Regions from separate parts of the Homo sapiens genome. Here region 1 is linked to region 2. The links are contacts of gene promoters, found by promoter capture Hi-C in blood cells and fetal thymus (Javierre and others, 2016). All regions are on one chromosome and are shown on one strand. Each heading gives the region's core, a stretch centred on a gene start or on the middle of the fragment in contact. The rest is flanking DNA. Distances are from core to core; before and after follow the strand shown. Region 1 has its middle 34 kb from the start of NCOR2. Region 2 holds the start of NCOR2 (nuclear receptor corepressor 2).

Evidence for each region. The method cuts DNA at HindIII sites, captures the fragments that hold promoters and counts their contacts. A CHiCAGO score of 5 or more calls a contact.
Region 1: a fragment that was not itself captured here is called in contact with the fragment with the promoter of NCOR2 in region 2 in 4 of 17 cell types (monocytes, M1 macrophages, M2 macrophages and 1 more); the score reaches 11.8 in monocytes.

Annotation. Positions count from the first base shown.
Region 1 is chr12:124,600,321-124,603,568 of GRCh38, reverse strand. No RefSeq gene overlaps it. Among named protein-coding and RNA genes, the nearest start is that of NCOR2, 34 kb to the right of the region's middle. The HindIII fragment of the contact is 2,658 bases long and covers 417-3,074 here.
Region 2 is chr12:124,565,885-124,569,050 of GRCh38, reverse strand. NCOR2 (nuclear receptor corepressor 2) reads left to right here and starts at 1,439. Exons shown (of 49, transcript NM_006312.6): 1 at 1,439-1,743. RefSeq lists enhancers at 1-847, 1,014-1,063 and silencers at 1,184-1,433, 1,544-1,903, 1,924-2,033, 2,174-2,393, 2,594-2,693. The HindIII fragment of the contact is 7,570 bases long and covers 1-3,166 here.

The DNA.
Region 1 (3,248 bases), core at 496-2,995, 34 kb before region 2:
GAATAAATGCTCATTCCCAGAATTGAGTTGCGTTGTGCAGATGGCACTGGGAAGACACGCCCTCATCCTCTGGGGCCTGCTGCAGTCCCTCCCTGCCCTGGCTGCTCATCAGTGGAGACAGAAGGGTAAGAGGCAGACGGAGAAGGGGAAGCATTAACACTTCCCTCCTGGAGGCCCTGAGAATGCTGGAGGGGCACATGGGACCCAGCTGTGGACAGAGGTCCCAGATGTAGAATGATGAGCAGTTACCTCCCACCGAGCCCAAAGGGACCACACCAGATCCATGGGAATAAATAAAACCCACCTCCCTCTCCGGCCTCCCAGGCCCTCTGAGACCTGGCCACCGCCACTGTCCCCATCTCCCAGTGTGGTCTGGCCTCACGAGCCTCCTTGTCGTTTCCTGGACGTTGCAAGCTTGTTCTGACCTCGGAACCTCCGTACGTGCAGTTCCTGCTACCAAGTCTTCTCTCCCCCAAGACACTCACAGGCTCAGCTCCTCTCCTTATTCTGGTCTCTGTCCGAATATTGCAAATGTCCCCATGTTGCAGCCCCTCCCTGGTGCTCCTTCATCCTCTTCCTTCGGCTCCATCTTTCCTTGTGGCCCTCAGCATCATATTTTGTATTCACTGTCTCTCTCCCTCTAACGTCAGCTTCCTGGAGGCAGAGACCTCTTCTGTCTTGCTTATCTTTGTGCTGCCAAAACTGTGAGGTATCCCCAAATGTTAGTCAGCTCCCTCATTTCACCAATGGGAAGGGACCTCCCTCAATGTTTTTGGTAAACTTACATATAAACTTTGGGTGGGGGCGTATGCATAGTCCAAAGTTCACTTGCACATTTATATTAGTGGTAGAGTTACACATGCCTGTTTATGCCTATTTAAAGTCATATGTTGGCTGGGCGCAGTGGTTCATGCAGGTAGTCCCAGCACTTTGGGAGGCTGAGGTGGGAGGATCGCTTGAGGCCAGGAGTACAAAATTGGGCAACATAGGGAGCCTCCTATCTCTACCAAAAAAAAAAAAAAAAAAAAGCAGGCGTAGTGACAGTGTGCACCTGTGGTTTCAGATACCAGAGAGGCTAAGGTGGGAAGGTTGCCTGAGCACAGGAGGTTGAGGTTTCACAGAGCTAAGATCTTCACTGCACTCCAGCTTGGGCAACAGAGCCAGACCCTGTCTGTAAAAAACAATGAATTAAAAAGTCACATGTAGCTGGGCGCAGTGGCTCATGCCTGTAATCCCAGCACTTTCGGAGGCTGAGGCTGGCAGATTGCTTGAGGTCAGGTGTTTGAGACCAGCCTGGCCAACATGGCGAAACCCCATGTCTACTGAAAATACAAAAATTAGCTGGGCGTGGTGGTGCGTGCCTGTCATCCCAGCTACTCGGGAGGCTGAGGCACGAGGATCACTTGAACCCGGGAGGGAGAGGTTGCAGTGAACCAAGATTGAGATCATGCCACTGCACTCCAGCCTGGGCAACAGAGCAAGACTCCGTCTCAAAAAAAGAAAAAAAAAAAGAAAGTCACATATGACATAAGTAACACAGCACATTAAGATACATTTCTTTGTGTTCCATTCTTACATTCATAAAATCATGTTCTCCCAACTCGCCGCCTGTGTCTTTGACACGGTGTCTTTGAGTCATCAAACAGCATTTGGTGGGCCCCATCTGTTCCCCTCATGTCTAGAACTTTGGAGACATGACATTTTTTGAATCTGCCTATGACGCAGCTACTGGAAATTTTATCCCAGGCCGCAAATATCCTTTTGCATAAATTAGGACATTGGTTGTTTCATTTGTTTTGTGGGTGTATATTATTGATGAGTTCCAGCAAGTAACCACGTACTGTGTTACTTTTTAAAGCGATCTTTAAAAGGGTTGTTTAGAGTGATATCCAATACTTCATACCCCTGGAATAATGGCTAAATCTGATGACATTTCTTGACTGTCTCTGTATAAATGATTCCGAGGCCGGGCGCGGTGGCTCACGCCTGTAATCCTAACACTTTGGGAGGCCAAGGCGGGCAGATCATGAGGTCAGGAGATTGAGACCGTCCTGGCAAACATGGTGAAACCCCGTCTCTACTAAAAATACAAAAATTAGCCAGGTGTGGTGGCACATGCCTGTAATCCCAGCTACTTAGGAGGCTGAGGCAGGAGAATCGCTTGAACCCGGGAGGTGGAGGTTGCAGTGAGCCGAGATCACACCACTGCACTCCAGCCTGGCAACAGAGCGAAACTCTGTCTCAAAAAAAAAAAGAAAAAAAAAAAAGATTCCGAGATGAGACTTATAGGAATCTTAGGCCGCGTAGTTTGAGATTGTTTCGGGATAAGGCTGGCATTCTCACCTGAGCGTATTTAGAATCACCTGGGGGAGATTTTAACATACATAGATGGTTCTAGGTTTCACCCCTAAATCAGCAGACTCAAAAATCTTAGAGGGGGACATCTGTATTTCTAAAAATCATCTAGGCAGGCTGAGACCCATGAGGCTTAATTTTGATATGACAAACCAGTTGTTCCCAAAGTGTGGTCCCTGAGTTAGCAACATCAACCGTGCCTGGGAACTTGCTAGAAATGAGATTTTCAGCCCCACCCCAAACCTGCTGAATCGGACACTCGGGAGAGGGGCCCAGCAGTGTCCCTTTTCATAAGCCCTCCAAGGGATTCGATGCTTGTTTAAGTTGTTCTAAACCAGGCTTTGATGTTTTTTTTAAATAAAAATAGGGCCCAGGTGTGGTGGCTCACACCTGTAATCCCAGCACTTTGGGAGGCTGAGGTGGGCGGATGTCTTGAGGTCAGGTGTTTGAGACCAGCCTGGACAACATGGTGAAACCCTGTCTCTACAAAAAATACAAAAATTAGCCAGGGGTTGTGGCATGCACTTGGAGTCCCAACCACTCAGGAGGCTGAGGGAGAGGACTGCTTGAGCCCAGGTGGATAAGGCTGCACTTAGCCAGGCTCGTGCCACTGCACTCCAGCCTGGGCAAAAAAGTGAGACCCTGTCCCCCAACCCCCAAAATAATAATAATAATAATAATAAATAAGTTAATGAGAAAGAATCAAGAGAAAAGAAGCTTCGTAAGGACTGAAATATCAGGTTACTCCTGTTTTTCTGAGGGAAACTTTCAGGGGTTCAGAGAGCTCACCGTATATTCAGAGAGGTATGCTGCTATCTGTTGAGGGAGTGGAATTCATGTGGCTTCCATGTCTTGAGCACTCTCTCAGCACCACACAGCAGGGTAGATGCTTT
Region 2 (3,166 bases), core at 190-2,689:
TCCCTTTTGCCAGACATTGTCAGCCCCAGAGGCTCCCGCCAGCCCCCCAAAAGCTCATAATTAAAAGCCCGAGGGGGCAGAGAAGGACCTGGCTGCAGGGGAGCCCGGCAAACCCAGCATCCTGGCGGAGGCGGGAGGCCCGCCGGCCTCTGGAAACCACGCGGCTGCCTCCCCACCGCAGCCATTCCCCGCTCTCCCTGGGGGTTCTCAGATGTTGCCAGATGGCAGAACTGAATCTGCTGAGACGTCACTCCAAAAAAGGAAAGTTGAACTGAAAAAAAAAAAAAAAATTCAAACTCTCCAACATCTTAGGAGAAAGCAGAAGAGGAGGGAGGGAGGGAGGCTCCAGGCCCAGGGCTCCCAGTGCCCTCTGCTGTTCAAAGAGATCTGCCCTGGTTGGAGAGGGCAAACCTGGAGGGGGTGGGAGGAGGGGGTAAATGAGGACACTGGGTTGTCAGGGCGGCCAGGGGGGCCAGGTTCCTGCTGGAGCGGAGAGTGTCTGCCTGTGCGTGGGGGAGCGAGCACATGTGTGCCGTCTGTGACTGCGTGCTTGTGCAGGCCGGGCGTGTGTGGCTCCCAGGGTCACGCTTTGGGATGTGTGTGTCTGTGTGTGTGTGTGGGGGGGGCGGGGGGGACACAGGCTCGTTGCATTGTCTCCGCATTTGTGTCCCTGAATGTCCCCAAGTGGGACTTCACTCAACACATTCGTGAGTCCCTACTGCGATAGGGCAGTGAACAAAATAGAAATCTCTGCCCTCAGGAAACTGGCATTCTAGCGTCTGTGTCCTCCGGGGTGCTGTGAACTCGCGTGGGTGTCCCAGTATTTGTCTGTGTGAGATCTGACATCTCCGGTCCGTGGTGGGTGGTGAGTCTGCAGTGTGTTCGCCCGGGCTGGGTCTCGGGTCTGGGGAGGCCCAGCGTGTTCCTGCCTGGAGAGGGCTCTGCGCTACTGTCTGCTCCCGTCCCCAAGTGCCCCACTGGGCGTGCTCCTAAAAGGCCCTGTGTAGGGCCCTCCCTGCGCGCCCCCTCCCCATCCAGCGGCCACTCCAGAGTTATAATTTAATAGCTGAAACGCGATTCCAGTGAGGTACTGGGGCTGGAGAGGAGGAGGAGGGCCCCCGGGCCCGCAGGAGAAGAGGGAGGGGAAGGCTGGGAGGCGCTTCCCCCCTCCTTCCTCCTCGGGGAGCTGCCAAAAAGAAACTCGGCGTCGCGCCCAAGTGTGTGCGTGCGTGTCTGTGTGTGTGGCGGCGTGCGCGCGCGAGTGGGGACGCGCAGGGCCTGGAGAGAAGGCGCGGGCCCTTTAAGGAGCCAGAGGGGGCCGGGCCGGGGCGCGTCGCTGCGGGCGGGGAGCCGGGAGCAGGGAGGCCGAGCCACCGCCTCCCGGGCTCGCGCCCCGCCCCCTCCTCCCCCTCCCGCCGCCGCCGCCGCCGCCGCCGCCGCCACCGCCGCCGCGGCCGCCGGGGAGCGCGGAGCCGCGGGCAGGCCGGGCCGCACCGGAGCCCCGCGTCCGCCGGCGCCCCGCCCGAGCCCTGCGCCCGCGCCCTGCGCTCCGCGATGCGCGCCAACTTGCGGGCCGGGGACCCAGGGCCGGCGCCCTAGGAGGCGGCGGCGGGAGGATCGCGTCCCGACCCGAGGCCGGGCCTGCTGCGCGCCCCCAGCCCGATCGGCACCGCCACTTGCCTGAGCGCCCCGGCGGCCCGAGCGCGCCCCAAGCCCGGGCGCCACCGCTGCCACCTCCGCGAGGTGAGTTGGGGCCGAGGGTCCCCGCGAAGGGCGGGGGGAGGCGCGGAGCGCGCTTCCGGGGGATCCGGGGAGGATCGGGCGGCGCACGCGGCGGAGTTGGCGGGGCCCCTGCACTCCCGAGTTGGCGCTCTCGGGGGGTGGCCTGCTGGGGAGCAAGGCGCCCCGCCGACACTGCGGCCCGCGTGCTCGGGGGCGCCGGGGAACTTAGGGGAACTCCAGCTCCCTAGCGAGGGGGCGGGAAGGAGGGAAGTGGCGTTGGGGTGGGCGGGGGGCGCGCTGGAAATGCACAGAGCGGCCCCCCACAGTGTGCGCCGGCTCTGGGGACTTGGCCGCCAGGCGTCCCTTGTACCCGGTGTAGCCCCGGACCTGGCGGGGCGACACTGCGCCTTATTTTCCATCGGGCAGCGCGGGTTTGAAAGCCCTTGGAGATGGTACCCCTAGCTCCCTGGCCTGGCTGTTGTGGAGGGGCGCATGAGGGTCTCTCACCAGCCGAGGGGGAGAGCCAGCCTTGTCCCTCCTAGGCGTGGGGCCACGGGGCGCTGGGCGGGGTCCCTCGGGAGAGTCGCCCCTGGTCCCCCTCCCCCGCGGGCCGGTGTTCCTGGTGTCTGGGCCTGCCTCCCGTGGCTGGTGACGCCTCATTGGGCCGCCTCCTAGTCCCTCCCCCGGGCTGTGCGGATACTTGGGATGCCACTACTTTGCGAAGTTGGAATTCAGAGCTGATCCCACTTGGGCACGACTGGGAAGACCCAGACCCTTGTCTAGAGGGCAGCTTCCTCAGAGGCCTGCGGGGAGTGAGGGCACCCGTGGGGTACGCCCTCCCCGCCCCAGACACTTGCAGGAGGAGCAAGCCGAGGGCGGGAGGGCACGGCGGGCGGGAGGGAGAGACAGGCTGTACCTGGGAGCTGCTGTCGCCCGGGCCCAATTAGCGTGGGGCGCCCGGCGTTATTTTTACATTGTAGGTTTATTTTTTTGGAAGCGAGTGTCCTCCCGCCGCCTGTCGCGCGCTCCGGCTCTCCGAGGGTCTGGTGCAGGCAGCGGGGGCGGATCTGTTCTGTCGGCTCAGCCTCCTCCCTTCCTCCCCCTCCTCCTCTCCCCCGTTGGTGAGAACTGGTTTTATTGTGATTATTATTATTTTTCCCTTTTTGCAGATTTGGAGGAAGGATGTGTGAGGGAGGGAAGAGGGGAGGAGGGGATAAGGGGAGGACCCTGTGGGCGGGGTGGGGGAGTTCTGGGCGCGTTGGGATGTGTTACCGGTGGCCTTGACTTTGCCCCTTTTCAGCCAGATCTGGGTCCTTGCGGCAGCTTTGATATAAGGGGCTCTCCGGGCCAGACTGCGCCGGGAGGGCGACCCGGGGCAGGCTGTGTACCTCGTGGGTGGCCTCTTTGGGGGTGCTGAGGAGGGGCCGAGAAATGGCAAGCAGCA